3 separate regions of the Homo sapiens genome follow, and regions 1 and 2 are each linked to region 3. The links are contacts of gene promoters, found by promoter capture Hi-C in blood cells and fetal thymus (Javierre and others, 2016). All regions are on one chromosome and are shown on one strand. The core of a region is centred on a gene start or on the middle of the fragment in contact, and the rest is flanking DNA. Distances in the headings are between cores, read along the strand shown. Region 1 has its middle 6.8 kb from the start of EVPL. Region 2 overlaps SRP68 (signal recognition particle 68). Region 3 holds the start of RNF157 (ring finger protein 157).

Region 1 (5,085 bases), core at 945-3,444, 210 kb after region 3:
CAGGACATGCAGATGAGGCCCCGGGGGCCGCGAATGGGTCTGTTCCAAGTGGGTGTTCCCGTGTTGTGCTGGCTCCAGTCCCTCCTCCAGGATGGACTCTGGTGCTGTCAGCAAGCTCTGACCCTGGAGGAGGCTTCTGTCTCCAACATCAAGAGAGGACGAAGAGAGCTCCATTCAGTCCCCTTATACTTTTATTTATTTATTTATTTAGAGACAGTCTCACTCTTGTCACCCAGGCTGGAGTGCAGTGGCACGATCTCAGCTCACTGCAGCCTCCGCCTCCCAGGTTCAAGCGATTCTCCTGCCTCAATCTCCCAAGTAGCTGGGACTACAGGTGCGTGCCATCATGCCCAGCTAATATTTGTATTTTTAGTAGAGGCGGAGTTTCACCGTGTTGGGCAGGCTGGTCTCGAACTCCTGGCCTCAAGTGATCCACCTGCCTCGACCTCCCAAAGTGCTGGGATTACAGGCATGAGTCACCACGCCTGGCCCGGTCTCATACTTTTAAAGCCTGCCCTAGGTCTGCTGTGGATGTGGTCGTGGTCGTGGTTTCTGTCCTTTTTTTTTTTTTTTTTTTTTTTTTTTGAGATGGAGTCTCGCTCTGTCGCCTAGGCTGGAGTGCAGTGGTGTAATCTCGGCTCACTCCACCTCCCAGGTTCAAGCAATTCTCCTGCCTCAGCCTCCCGAGTAGCTGGGATTACAGGTGGCCACCACCACGCCCAGCTAATTTTTGTATTTTTAGTAGAGATGGGGATTTCACCATTTTGGCCAGGTTGGTCTCAAACTCCTGACCTCATGATCTACCCGCCTCAGCCTCCCAAAGTGCTGGGATTACAGGCATGAGCCACCGCACCTGGGCTTTTCTTTTTTTGAGATGGAGTCTGACACTGTCGCCCGGGCTGGAGAGCAGTGGTGTGATCTTGGCTGACTGCAACCTCCGCCTCCCATTCAAGCGATTCTCCTGCCTCAGCCTTCCGAGTAGCTGGGATTACAGACATGCGCCACCACGCCTAGCTAATTTTTTGTATTTTTAGTAGAGATGGGGTTTTACTCTATTGGCCAGGTTGGTCTCAAATGCCTGACCTCGTGATCCACCCGCCTCAGCCTCCCAAGGTGCTGGGATTACAGGCGTCAGCCACCACGCCTGGCCTATGTGATCATAGTTTCTATTCTCTGTTCCAGGCAAGCCCCACCAGGCCTGCTGGGTGAGGGTCAGGAGCACGAGGTGGCTGAGGATGGCACTGGCCTTTGCTGCTGGGTCTCCTGGCCTGTTCCTCTCTTCCCGAATGTTGTTTGGATTTGCTGTCTCCTCTCTGGTTTTACATTAAATCAGTGAGAACTCTTGGATTCCCTCTTTGAAATGAAACGGTGCTGGGCTTGGTTCCGACCCCTTCCCCTGGTGGCAACCTGAGCCTGTCACCACAAGCACAAGGTGACAGCCTGTGATGACAGGCCATCCTCAACCCATAGCGGCTCTGGGCCAGAGCCAGGACTTTCCTCCCAAAAGCTGAGGCAGAGGCTTCACCCCCTCTAGGAGAGGAAGGCCAACGCCAGGGGCTTTGAGGGTGGGACTGTGCTCTGTTCACTGTCATCGCTGTGGCAGCGCTAATTTTTCACATACGAGGTGTCGTTAGTCACACACAAAAAAGCCAACTGATCACAGAATTCTAAACAGCACAATTCTGTCTGCAGCCTTGAAAAGCCTGGGACATTTAGAGGTCTAGGAAAATATCCAAAGATAGCAAAAATATGTGTTGGTTCTAATTTTTTGTTTGAAGACAGTTGTTGCTACAGAGGAGATGGAAAGCAGATTTAGCTGTAAAATTTATCGATGTTCCAAAGCAAAGAGAATAAATTGGAAATTGCCTGCATCCTGACAACACCAACTGGAAGAATCCAACCTGTTATTCTGTTAGATGTTAGAGACACTTGGGAGGAGGACCTGGGAGGGGCTGTGGCTGGGGGCACCGCCCAGGGCCAGCTGGGGTGGCAGGCTGTGCGGGTTGCACACAGTAGATAGGCCCTGGCCTCTGGGTCCACCCTCTGCTCTGAGCACCATCTGGCACAGAGTGAGGGGCTCTACAAGCATCCAGTAGAAGTATTATTATTATTATTATTCCAAGATGAGGTTTCACTCTTGTTGCCCACACTGGAGTGCAATGGCACGATCTCAGCTTACTGCAACCTCTGCCTCCCGGGTTCAAGTGATTCTCCTGCCTCAGCCTCCTGAGTAGCTGGGATTACAGGCATGTGCCACCATGCTCAGCTAATTTTTGTATTTTTAGTAGAGACGAGGTTTCACCAAGTTGGATAGGCTGGTCTCGAACTCCTGACCTCAGGTGATCCGCAGCTTCGGCCCCCCAAAGTGCTTCCCCAGGGATCTTCTGACCTAGCAATCCAGCTATGACGGGCAGGTACCTGGGCCAGTGAAAGCTGAGTAACGTTAGCTGCGGCTCATCTGTGGAATGGAGACAGACGTGGCTGTGCAAAGGCCTCACCAGGCAGTGCCTCCCATGCTGCCTAAGAAGAGGTGTGAGGCAGAGAGAGCAGGTGCCCAGGGTCCTCCGAGCTCCTGGATCCCTGCCCCACACTGACTAGTCCATTGCCTCTGAGCACACTCCAGCTCCTGTACAACAGGGGCGGCTGCGTCTCAAAGTTGCTGGGAGGAGACAGTGAGGAGGTTCCCCCAAAATGTTCTGAGCCCAGACCCCAAGACAGTGTGGGCTGCTGTACCCTGAGTCGATGGGTACACATAGCTGAGAGAGCCTTCCACTCAGCCAGCCTGCGTCCTTGTCTTCCCCTTCCCAGGAAGTCCTCCTAAGTCTATGCAATGCCATTCAGACAATAGTTTGGGTCTGACTAGCTGCTGTCTGTGCTGGGTGGTTTAACCTCCCCTTTCCAGCTTCCTGACAATAGAGACAAATCAGGCAGCTATGAGAACTTCTTGTTCCTTCGTTTTCATGTTTGTCTGTTTTATAAACCTTTTTCTCCCTCTGAACAGTGAACAGTGCCAGATGCCACCAGACCCCTGCTGCTGTGGTGCAGCCGGTGGGACATTTTCTCAAGCGGCAACGCAGGTCATTATCTTGGCATGGACAGTTAGCTGGCTGCCTCCGTCACATCCGCACTTCTCCAAAATAGGGCTGCAGGTCCCCGGACCTAGCTAGTAAGGACAGCTATTATCTTAAAGGTGGCAGAGAGGCCCAGAGCCCTTGGGCCTACCAGTTCCTGAGTAAGACTGGCTGGGCTGCAGACTTCTGGAATGCAGGGATGGCTCATGCACGAGATGGCTGCAGGGGCTGGGGAGTGGGCTGCACCAGCATCAGTCCTACAGCTGAACTGGGGCTGGTGCTGTGGGTCCCCTTTCTCCCAGGGAAAGGGGATGGTTCAGAGGGAGGGACAGATACCCTAAGGCAGCCTTGGTTTTGAGGATTCCAGGGGTTCCCTCTATGTTCTCTTTCTTGCCATTTAGTATGAGGAATCCTGCCTGCTCTCTTAACACACACAAGATTTGGTTGTTTTCTGTTTTTTGGAGTTTTGGTAGTTGCTTCCTCTAAACCTTCCCCGTAAAAGTCCCAAAAGGAATCACTAGCACCTGTTCCTCCCCACTCTTGTCTGGTTAGGCAAGCTGTACCACCTTTTGCTTCTCTCTAGGCTGACCTTGGCATTTCAGTTCTTTTTATCGGACTTGCCAGGCAGACTCACAGCCAAAAGAGCCTCCTCCTGGTGGCCCTGCAGATTCCTGGGCCACAGCCTCTACCCGCCAATCCTATACCTGTAGACAACGGAAGGAGGCTGGTCCCTTGAACCCCCAGTCCGCCAGACTGTGCTCCTCTAGGCCCAGCTGGAGGAGGGTGCCTCTGCTTTGCTCAGTGGGCGAAGGGAGTGAAGGGAAGAGGTCATTACTCAACTTCGGTCCAAGGGTCTGGCAGCGGAGCTTTTGTACAAACAGGGCAATTTCCTGAGACGGCAAAGCCTCGCCTCATCAGGAACACATGGGCGCCTGGTAGCTTACGGCTCCCGGGACAAAGGAGGCAATTACCACCATCTGCCTCAGCAGGGAGAAGAATGCCTCCCCACAGGAGCCCGGAGCTGGAGGAGAGAGTGGGCACCAGAGGGCTTAACTGCTGGCACACATGCCAAGTGGCCACCCTGTGGCCGGGCTGCACATATGCCCAGCTGTGTCTGGCAGTCTTGGAGCCGAGAGTCTCACTGTTCTTGGTCTGATCAAGCCTCTTGCTCAGGTCCCAGGCCAGGTGAGCTGCCAGCTGCCCACATCAGCGTGGCGCTCCAGGCGCAAGGAGTGAGTAAGCTGCCGCGCAAAGTCATGGCTGGCAGAGGGTTGAGCAGCCCCAGGGATCGTTTCATCTCTAACCTCTCAATCCACCAAGGAGCAAGCCAGGGCCAGGTGAGAGGAAGGACTCACCAGGCCCTTCAAGGTGGGGAGATGCTATCTTTGCATGCATGCCTTTAAAAAAATTTTTTTTTGGTTTTTTTTTTTTTTTGAGCCGGAGTCTCGCTCCGTCACCCAGGCTGGAGTGCAGTGATGCGATCTCGGTTCACTGCAACTTCCACCTCCCAGGTTCAAGCGATTCTCCTGCCTCAGCCTCCTGAGTAGCTGGGATTACAGGTGTGCGCCACCACGCCCAGCTAATTTTTGTGTTTTTAGTAGAGATGAGGTTTCACCATATTGGTCAGGATGGTCTCGAACTCTTGACCTCGTGATCCACCCACCTTGGCCTCCCAAAGTGCTGGGATTATAAGCATGAGCCACCATGCCTGGCCAAAAAACATTTTTTTTTTTTTTTGGAGATGGAGTCTCACTTCTGTCATCCAGGCTGGAGTGCAGTGACTCAATCTCGGCTCACTGCAACCTCCCTCCACCTCCTGGGTTCATGCCATTCTCCTGCCTCAGCCTCCCGAGTAGCTGGGACCACAGGCACCCGCCACGATGCCTGGCTAATTTTTTTGTTTTTGTAGTTTTAGTAGAGACGGGATTTTGGTTTTTTTTTGAGACGAAGTCTCACTCTGTCACCCACGTCACCCAGGATGGAATGTAGTGGCGCAATTTTGACTCACCTCCAC
Region 2 (4,909 bases), core at 1,868-4,367, 190 kb after region 3:
GGAGCAGAGGTGATACGTGGCAGTCAAGAGGTTTTAAACTTGAACTGTACCCTACCGACAGGAAAAGAGGCAAATCCTGTGTAGCTGGTAAGACGAAGTTCGCTCTTTTCTTGAACGCCGGTTGCTCCAACCACTTAACCCCACTTGTCTGAGAAGGGTGTTGGCATGTTTGTTGGATTGCATGGAATTAAAACGGGCGCCGTAGCTCTTCCTTTCTGCTGAGAATGTGGCTGTGGTATATGTGTGTTTCTTTTTTTTTTTTTTTTTTTTGAGACAGGGTCTCACCCTGTCACCCAGGCCAAAGTGCAGTGGCACAATCTCAGCTCACTGCAACCTCCACCTCCTGGTCTCAGTTGGTCCTCCCACCTTTGCCTCCTGGAATAGCTGGGACCACAGGCATGCACCACCACACCTGGCTAATTTTTTTTGCATTTTTTGTAGACATGGGGTTTTGTCATGTTGCCCAGGCTGGTCTCAAACTCCTGGACTCAAGTGATCTGCCCACATCTGCCTCCCAAAGTGCTGGGATTACAGGCGTGAGCCACCGCGTCCGACGCCATGTGTGTTTCTTAAGTAGTGGTGCCAAGTCCATTCACATGTCTTTTTTTTTTTTTTTTTAAGTTCTGGGATACATGTGCAGAACATGCAGGTTTGTTATATAGGTATATATGTGCCATGGTGGTTTGCTGCACCTATCAACTCATCATCTAGGGATTTTTTTTTTTTTTTTTTGAGATGGAGTCTGGCTCTGTCGCCCAGGCTGGAGTGCAGTGGCGCGATCTCGGCTCACTGAAACCTCCGCCTCCCGGGTTCACGCCATTCTCCTGCCTCAGCCTCCCTAGTAGCTGGGACTACAGGTGCCCACCACCATGCCCAGCTAATTTTTTGTATTTTTAGTAGAGACGGGGTTTCATCGTGTTAGCCAGGATGGTCTCGATCTCCTGAGCTCGTGATCCGCCCGCCTCAGCCTCCCAAAGTGCTGGGATTACAGGCGTGAGCCACCGCGCCCAGCCCATCATCTAGGTTTTAAGCCCTGTGTGCATTAGGTATTTGTCCTAATACTTTCCCTCCCCTTGCCTCCCACCCCCTGCCATTCACATGTCTTACTCGAGTTTTTAAGCACTCTAGACTTATGTATCTTATTCCAGTTGCTGAGTATTATATGGCGGCACCATTCCACAGATTTGTACTTTGAAAAATTAGGCCAGTAAGGTTGACGAAGTGATTCTAAAGAATCTTGCCAACCTGGGGTCGGCCAACAATATTCTATAAAGCATGTGCTCCAGTGCTGCACTGTCCAGTGCAGTAGCCGCTCAACACATGTGGTTATTGAAATTTAAATTAATAAAACTTCCAGCCAGGCTCTGTGGCTCCTGCCTGTAACCCCAGCACTTTGGGAGGCCAAGACAGGTGGATCACCTGAGGTCAGGAGTTCGAGACCAGCCTGGCCAACATGGTGAAATAGCCAGGCGTGGTGGCGGGCACCTGTAGTCCCAGCTACTCCGGAGGCTGAGGCAGGAGAATCTCATGAACCCAGGAGGCGGTGGTTACAGTGAGACGAGATCACGGCACTATACTCCAGCCTGGGTAGCAGAGCAAGACTCTGTCTCAAAAACATAAAATAATAAAAAGATAGATAAATTAATAAAACTTCCGAGTGCTCAGGTGTTCATTGGACGGTGCACGTAGAGGACATTGCCCGTGGCAGAGAGTTCTATTGGATGGTGCTGCTCTGGTGGTTCCAGGAGTGAATGGTGGCCGTGTTTGCTTTACTAGATTTATAGCATGAATGAGCCCCAGTTCGTTCCCAAGTTAGTGAACAACAGGAAAGTCAAGTAACTTATAAGTGGAAAAGTATGTTTGATTTGTATTGGGTAAGTTACAAGGAAGATTTTTTTTTTCACACTGGAGACTAAGAAAAGAGAAGAAATAGATTCTTAAGAGAACTTTTAAGAAAAGCTTTCTTAAGAGAAGAAAAAGGGTTTTTCTTTAAGCCCCTGTTCCCCCAACCATCTCTTAAAGGGGTGGGCAGCACTGGGTTTTCGTTTGAGCTTTCTTAGAGGTCAGTTGAATATTAACACATTTTTTCAGATTGAGTGTTAATTTCTATGGGAAGTCAAATACCATAATGGAATGTTGATGTTTTAATTTCACAGTGGGTCTGCCAGTCACACAGGTTCATCCCCTTTCTGCCTTTTGTCCATTTCTATCTGCTCGGTCAGATTCTTTGGGACGATAATGTGGCTTGGCAGGTATTCAGTTAGTGAATCACTTTCTCACTTACCCTAGCTGTGTAGCAGACAGGTGACACCCAGTACTTGTGCAAAGACTGTCGTCTCATGCGTGTCAACCTTGTATGTCCTAAAAATTGTTCTCAGAGTAGTCATGTGGAATATCTGAGTGCAGCACGTCTGTGGCGAAAAGAACTTAGTGTGATATTTAGGAGAACTGTCTTTTTGGTGGGTATTGATTAGTCTTTTTTATTATTTCCTTGTACCTAAAAGAAACAATCTTTGAGTTGGGTCACATTTGTAAAAGGTAATTGTGTTGGCATACAGTAGAGCTTGACAAGTTTGTTCTGGAAGGAAAAGATAAGGAAAGTTCTGGTGTGCTGTGCTTCAGTGTAGAGTGTCCCAAGTCCAGTCTGTAAGGCCCCTCAAGGGGTGCCAGGTCCTGAGCAGAGGGTGAAGCGCTGCAGGGAAGTAGCAGGAAGCTGTGCTGGGAAGAGACGTAAAGCCTTTGCTAAGTCTCAGATCAGTTATGCAGACAGCTTTTTCAGCATGTTTGCTTTTAAAAATAGAACTCCCCTTTCCATATGAATAATGAATGACTAAGGCTATGAGAAACCATTATATGGTAGAGAACAGTAACAATTAAAATGATATCTGGTGTGGCGTGCGTGAGTGAGTGTGTGGTTGGGGGACTCCATGTGCGATTTTGCTCCTCTCCCATTAGGTGACTATGGTTTGCTCAAAGGAAAGTCTCTTACTTTGATCTGCCCTTGTTTAGGCTGAAAGCGAAGAAACTAAGGAGCGCCTGTTTGAATCAATGCTCAGCGAGTGTCGGGACGCCATCCAGGTGGTTCGGGAGGAGCTCAAGCCAGATCAGGTAGGACCCTCAGCCGAGCCCTGGTTCTTGCTCTGGGCGGGTCCAGGTCAGCCTGTGTCCCCTTCTCAGGTGGACCCCAGTGCTCTGAGTGCACTGCTCGCTTGGCCACTGTTTCGTTTTTGTTTTTTTGAGGTGAGGTCGTAAGGGAGCAAACAAGGGCCTCTGGGCTCCATCACATTGAGAAATTAATTTCTCCCTCCCCTGTTCCTCCTAATGGTTTCCTATATGGCCTGTGAAGCCTGTGGCCTCCAATTCTGTCTCCAGGTGGACTTCTCCAGTGCCTCCCTTTTCTGAAAACACTATCCCTGTGGTTGATTCAGGCATCTAGGCTGAAAACCTCAGATCTATTTGTCTCTTTTGTCCCTGTCACCAAACCCACCTTCTTCTCCCTTTGCAGGGCCTCTTGCCTATTGTTGCTTCACCTGTTTCTATTAGCCTTTTCTCGTGTGCCTAGGCAACCGCAAAGGTCTCCTAATTGCTTCTTCTGGCTTGGTCTCGGTTCCCTTCTCCAGGCCTTTCTTTCGCAAAGTACAAATGGAATCTTTCTAAATCTAGTTTCCCTGTCTAATTTTAAAAAGCCCAGTGATTTCCTCTAGGGATTGAGCAATGGCCTCCAAACTTTTATGCTGATAAACCCCATAGGCAGCATTGAGCCTGCACCACTGATGCATTTATTTATGAATTATATAGCTTATTATTTGACTAATTTGTCATATATAAACTGCATTAAAATAAGGGCTTTTTTGAATGAGATAAATAGAAATAGAAATTCTAATTTTCGTTTCATACCCAGACTCCCTGGGTTTTATGCGCCCTACTTAGAGACCACTGGCCTCTCAGTTCAGACTTGAGCTGGTGTACAAGCCTTCCTTAGTCTGTTCCCAGCCTTGTACTTCACTGCATCCTTCTGAGTCCTCTGCCTCAAGCTGTTCCACTTACTGGCATCTCAGTAATGCCTTTCCCACCCCGTGTGTTACACTGTTCTCATTCCCCTCCCTCCGCACACTTGGGTAATCTTTCCTGCCCCTCTTCACCTGTCCAAACCCCATCTGTTTTTCAAGGTCCAGCTCATAGCTTACCATTTCTGAAAAGCATATGCCTGCACCATCCTAGCCCACAGAGATCTCTGCAGTTTCTAAATATCTGATACTTGCAGCTATAAGCTTTGATAGTTAATTAAGTATTACCTCTTCATAAAAACTTTATTGTGGTAAAAAACGTTAAACATAAAACCTTAACCATTTTTAAGTGTATGGTTCAGTGGTAATTAAATGCATTCATAACGTACAACCATCACCAACAGTCCATCTCCAGAACTCTCTGCATTTTGTAAAACTGAAACGCTGAACCCATTAAACAACAATAACTTCGTTGCCTAGCAACTATTTTTTTTTCAGCATCTGCCACAAAGCCTTGAGTATAAACTTTGTTTTGAATCACTGCTTTCTCTAAGGAGTCACCTGCTTCCTTGCCCCGTTAGGCTGCCTTTATGTATTGTGCTTCCCTTCATCGACTTAACAGAGGTGCCTACAGAGTCCCAGCCCCTGTCACTGTCATTCACCTTGAATGCATAGCAGTTGGGAGACACCTCACAGAATGTAAGGAATGTGATGCCGCAAAGGCGCATTCATTTCCTGTTGCTGCGATCATATTAACCACAAACTTGATGGTTTAAGATGATCCAAATGTATTATCTTACGCTTCTCGAGGTCAGAAATCTAGTGGGTTCACAGGGCTGTGTTCCTTTAGAAACCCTAGGGGAATCCTTTTCCAGTATTCCCAAGAATGCATCTCCTGGCTT
Region 3 (4,556 bases), core at 1-2,500:
CAGCTACTCGGGAGGCTGAGGCAGGAGAATCCCTTGAACCCAGGAGGCGGAGGTTGCAGTGAGCTGAGATCACGCCACTGCACTCCAGCCTGGGCGACAGAGGGAGACTCCGTCTCAAAACACAGAAAAACAAAAACAAAATATAACCAGGAAAGACCTAGACTCCGTAAAATAGCTTTACAAACCTAATCAAGGGAACCAGACACCCCAAACTGTACTTCGAACACTGTTGAAAAGTTGTGAAAGTCATGTTCTAGCAGTTGAAATGTTTGCTGATCAGTCCACTCTCTCAGGAAAAAAAACACCAGACCCACAAAGAAAATAGAAGGTTTAAAACACAAATGTCTGTAATTAAGCAATGGAATGACGTCTTCCGCCGGCCCAAGCTTCCCACTGTTGTGTGTGTTTTTATCAACAGGAGCTCCCGGTTCTGCCTGGCCCGGTTCGCTTTCGCCTGCGTTGACTCTCTTGGCACTCAGGCCTTTCCAAAGTTTCCGGGGTCCCGTTTCCACGATACAGACAGAGGCTGGATGTCTTGATCTTATCCTCAGTCGATGTTCTCCTAACTTTAGGGCTACAAGGAGCCTTAAACAGCATGTATAGAGTTGGGAGCGCTTTGAATAGACGCACGTGAGAGGGAGGCGGCATCTTCCTAGCCGGTCACCAGCATTAACACGGGGCAGGAGACATGCGAATGCACCGTGGGACCCCTCTCCCTACCCCCCTGCATGAGATTTCCGAAGACCTCCGCCGGCCGACGCTGAGGGGCGGGGTTGGGAAGGCTTCCTCCAGGCGCGGGAGCAGCGGAGCGGGGACCGCCCGCTTTGGGACGCCCAGGACAATGGCGAGCGAGCTCCCGGCCAGTCCTCGCGGACCGCGGGAGGGGGCGGCTCCCTGCGCGGTAATCCGAGCCGGGATAAACAGGCGCGGAGGGGCGACGCGTCCCGGCCGGGTGCAGCGCTCGTCTCCTGGGGTCCCAGCTCCGGCCGGTCCCGCCCCGCCCCGCCGCGGGCACCCGGCCGCGCCCCCGTCCCCGTCGCGAGTCCCCGCCCACGCCCACGCCCCCGCCGCGAGGCCCTGGGCCGCGTCCACGCGCGCCGAGTCCAGCCGCGGCTCCCCGCGCGAGGCACGCGCCGCCGGCTCCTGCTGCAGTCCCGCGCTCATTGGCTGCTCCGGCGCGGGCGCTCCCGCCCCGCCTCGCCATTGGCTGGGGCCGCCGCGGTCCCCGCGCGGAGCGGCCGCTGACATCACGCGGCCTGAGGCGGCGGCGGCGCCCCCGGCCCAGACCCGCAGCCCCCTTGGCAGAGGCGCCGCCGCGGTGCCCGGCGGAGGATGGTGCGCGGCGCGCCGGGGGCTCCCCGCCGCCAGAGCCGCAGCGCCGCAGCGGAGCCGGCCGCGGCGGGCAGTCGGCCCCCGCACCGGGCGCGGGGCGGGCGGCCGCGGTGAAGCGCGGAGGGCGGCGCGGGCACCGGGGCCGGGCCGGGGCTGCAGCCGCAGCGGCCATGGGGGCCCTGACGAGCCGGCAGCACGCGGGCGTGGAGGAGGTGGACATCCCGTCTAATTCCGTGTACCGCTACCCGCCCAAGTCCGGTGAGGGCGGGCGGGCGCCGCAGCCGCGAGGAGGGAGAGGGGCAGGGGCAGGGGTCTGGGTCGGGACGGCCTGAGGGGGCCCCGCGGGTCTTCGGGGACTCAGTGGTTGCGGACGCTCCGAAACGGTCTTCGAGCGCGGGAGGTCTTCGAGAAGGCCGAGGTCTCCCCCGCCCCGGGCGAATTAGCCCAAGGGGCGTCCTGCCGGGTCTAGCAGGGTCACCGAGGGCACCGAGCCCCTCCACGGGAGGACGGGAGCGGCCTCCATTGTAATCGGCCCCGTGACGGGGACGCGTGCCCGCAGGGACCGAGGCTCCTGGGGAGCGGGGCTGCGGCGTCGTAGGCGAGGTCGGCGCCCCGCACGGACCCGGCCGGCCCGGCCCAAAGCCTACCTGCCTCGCGGGGTCCGAGGGCCGCGAGGGAGGCGACCTCGGCATCCAAACAGGCACTTGCGCCAGGTGCTATCCCTGCGCTGCCGTCTCCTGGCCTCTGGAAAGGTTAGAATTAGGTTTCTCCTGGAAAAGCTTCCATTGCCTGCTGAAGGATGGAAGCCAAACAGGCATTTGCAGTGCTGGTGCTTTTGCAGAGGCTGTCAGAAGCCGGGGGGTGGGGGGGGTGGTGGTGGTGGAAAGTAACAGAAATGTTTGGGAATCTGAGTATCAGAGTTACTCGGATTGCCCCTTTGCTAGCGTAGTGGCAAGCCTGGGTTTTGGAGTGGGACCAGCTCTGGGACAGGGCAGAGGTATTGGAAACGTATAGAAGTATGTTTGTTATTAGAATCATCCCTTCACTTAAATGTCTCTAGCCTCTGGATTGTGGTATCAGCATTGGAGGTGGAGGAGGATTTTGACAGCAAAGCAGAGAATCACAAGGTAGTTCAGTTATGTGAGCACCGGCCAGTATGAATTGCATGACCTAGCCGGTGTTTACTTTTAATTGCAAGTAGTTTTATTTTAATTAATTACTTTTAATTTTATTCTCAAGACTTCTGAGGATGAATGGCTGCGACATTCTGTCTGCTTAGGACCCGATGGAGATTTTGGTGATTTCGGAATGAGGTGTCAGAATTGGAGCAGAGCCTCGTCTCTTTTTGGTAGAATAGAGACATACTGAGATGAGCTGGTTTCTCAGCAGTGTGTCCAGTGTCTGCCAGGTGAAAGCAGGGGCCAGACGATGAACCTGCCCGCATCCCTGCAGAGTGTCTGCCAGAGCTGTGTTTCTCACTGCTTTTGTACCAAAGAATGAATCCTTGCAAAGATGAATATGGTGAAGAATTGTTTTAGAAAGGTCTAAGATAAAGCTGTGGGTCGTTAGTATTTTAATAAAGCTCTGACTGATTATGACTACATAAAATCAACGCTAACCAAGGCATAGATTTTGTTTTTTAATAGACAAAAATATTCTTAGGGCGGCATGAGGAAAACTTTTTAAAATAGACAAAAATATGCAGCAGTATTTGTGGGCTCTGTTTTTCTTAAACCACATGGCTTTTATTGATCAAAATATGGAGCATACTTTGCTGAGCTTGGAATTTTCAATAGTGTTTGCTGCCTCAGGAAAGTATTCACCGCTCTTTCATATGTGGGACTTAACATAGGTAAACCTCTGGAAGGCTGTTCCCCAAAGCATATTTGTACAAGTATGAATCTTGGGTGATGATAATAAAAAGACAATAGACCAAACCAAAACTTTTGTTAATTAGCACACTCAATAAATAATCCTCTCCTCTCTACCAGTTTTAAAAGTTTAACTGTAAAACTGTAATTCATGTTAAATCAGAAGTTATACATGAGAGAAGTCTTTATAGCAAGTGGACCACATTATTTCTGTTGAAGCTAAAACATAGAAAATAGAATCAGAACATCCTGTCTCTGTCAGCAAACCTTTGTGTATTTGAAACCTTATGTGAGCTTGCATATATGCTCTAGACGGAGGCATCGCCTTTCTTCTGATCTTTGAATTGACCTGGCTCTTTATGGGATTACAGTATTAGTCCTGAAAGGAACCGTTGACAGAGTTTGGCCATGACCACCATGCCTAGCTAATGTTTAATTTTTTTTTTTTTTTTTTGAGTCATCGTCTCTCTCTGTCACGCCCAGGCTGGAATGAAGTGGTGCAATATTGGCTTACTGCAACCTCTGCCTCTAGGGTTCAAGCAATTCTCCCGCCTCAGTCTCCCAAGTAGCTGGGATTACAGGTGTTTGCCACCACACCCGGCTAATTGTTTGTATTTTTAGTGGAGATGGGGTTTCACCATATTGGCCAGGCAAGTCTTGAACTCCTGACCTCTCAGGTGATCCGCCTGCCTCGGCCTCCCAAAGTGCTGGGATTACGGGTGTGAGCTACCACGCCCAGGCAAGTTTTTTGTAGAGACACTCTCTCACTATGTTGCCCAGGCTGGTCTTGAACTCGTGGTCTCAAGCAATCCTCCCGCCTTGGCCTCCCATTCATTTCACTGATAAGAAAATGGAGACCCAGAGAAATGAATTGGTATGGCCAGGGTCTCTCAGCCAGTTAGTGTTCTTCCTACTATACTGTCTGCCTCCACCTCTCAAGGAATTGGGTTTTGAACTTGTACTCAAAAAACAAGACTTAAAACAATCATTCCATGATTATGGAATGAAGGCTATTTCGTGTCATAATTGAAGTCCCTATAGAGGAATCAACCTGGGTTGATTTTGAGAAGTCTCCTTATCCTGAGTACTAACAGTGGAACAAAGCAAGTGGCAGAGTCAGCTTTCTCCAGATGACATACCTTGTAGTTTGAGTGTTAAGTTGAGACCACTATCTGGCTCGCTGGAAAGCGGCTAGACCTGCACTGCCGGTGGAACAGTTGTTTCGGAAAGAAGCACCATCATCTGTCCTTGTAATGACGGTCACAGTGTCCAGCTGAAATTGCTTTTTTCTTAGTATATTTAATGGAACTTCTTAGTTTTGTATGCACATTGAAACAAACATTTAAATCCTAT

The links. The method cuts DNA at HindIII sites, captures the fragments that hold promoters and counts their contacts. A CHiCAGO score of 5 or more calls a contact.
Region 1: a contact is called between a fragment that was not itself captured here and the fragment with the promoter of RNF157 in region 3, in 1 of 17 cell types (endothelial precursors). The highest score is 5.1, in endothelial precursors.
Region 2: a fragment that was not itself captured here is called in contact with the fragment with the promoter of RNF157 in region 3 in 1 of 17 cell types (endothelial precursors); the score reaches 5.0 in endothelial precursors.

Annotation. Positions count from the first base shown.
Region 1 is chr17:76,031,516-76,036,600 of GRCh38, reverse strand. No RefSeq gene overlaps it. Among named protein-coding and RNA genes, the nearest start is that of EVPL, 6.8 kb to the right of the region's middle. RefSeq lists an enhancer at 1,999-2,606. The HindIII fragment of the contact is 7,176 bases long and covers 1-5,085 here.
Region 2 is chr17:76,048,627-76,053,535 of GRCh38, reverse strand. SRP68 (signal recognition particle 68) reads left to right here. Exons shown (of 16, transcript NM_014230.4): 9 at 3,010-3,108. Among named protein-coding and RNA genes, the nearest start is that of SRP68, 21 kb to the left of the region's middle. The HindIII fragment of the contact is 2,312 bases long and covers 1,962-4,273 here.
Region 3 is chr17:76,237,187-76,241,742 of GRCh38, reverse strand. RNF157 (ring finger protein 157) reads left to right here and starts at 1,250. Exons shown (of 19, transcript NM_052916.3): 1 at 1,250-1,590. The coding sequence starts at 1,503. It overlaps LOC105371896 (a long non-coding RNA gene), which reads left to right. Exons shown (of 6, transcript XR_007065913.1): 6 at 1-881. RefSeq lists silencers at 1,076-1,145, 1,166-1,305 and an enhancer at 1,610-2,282. The HindIII fragment of the contact is 1,725 bases long and covers 389-2,113 here.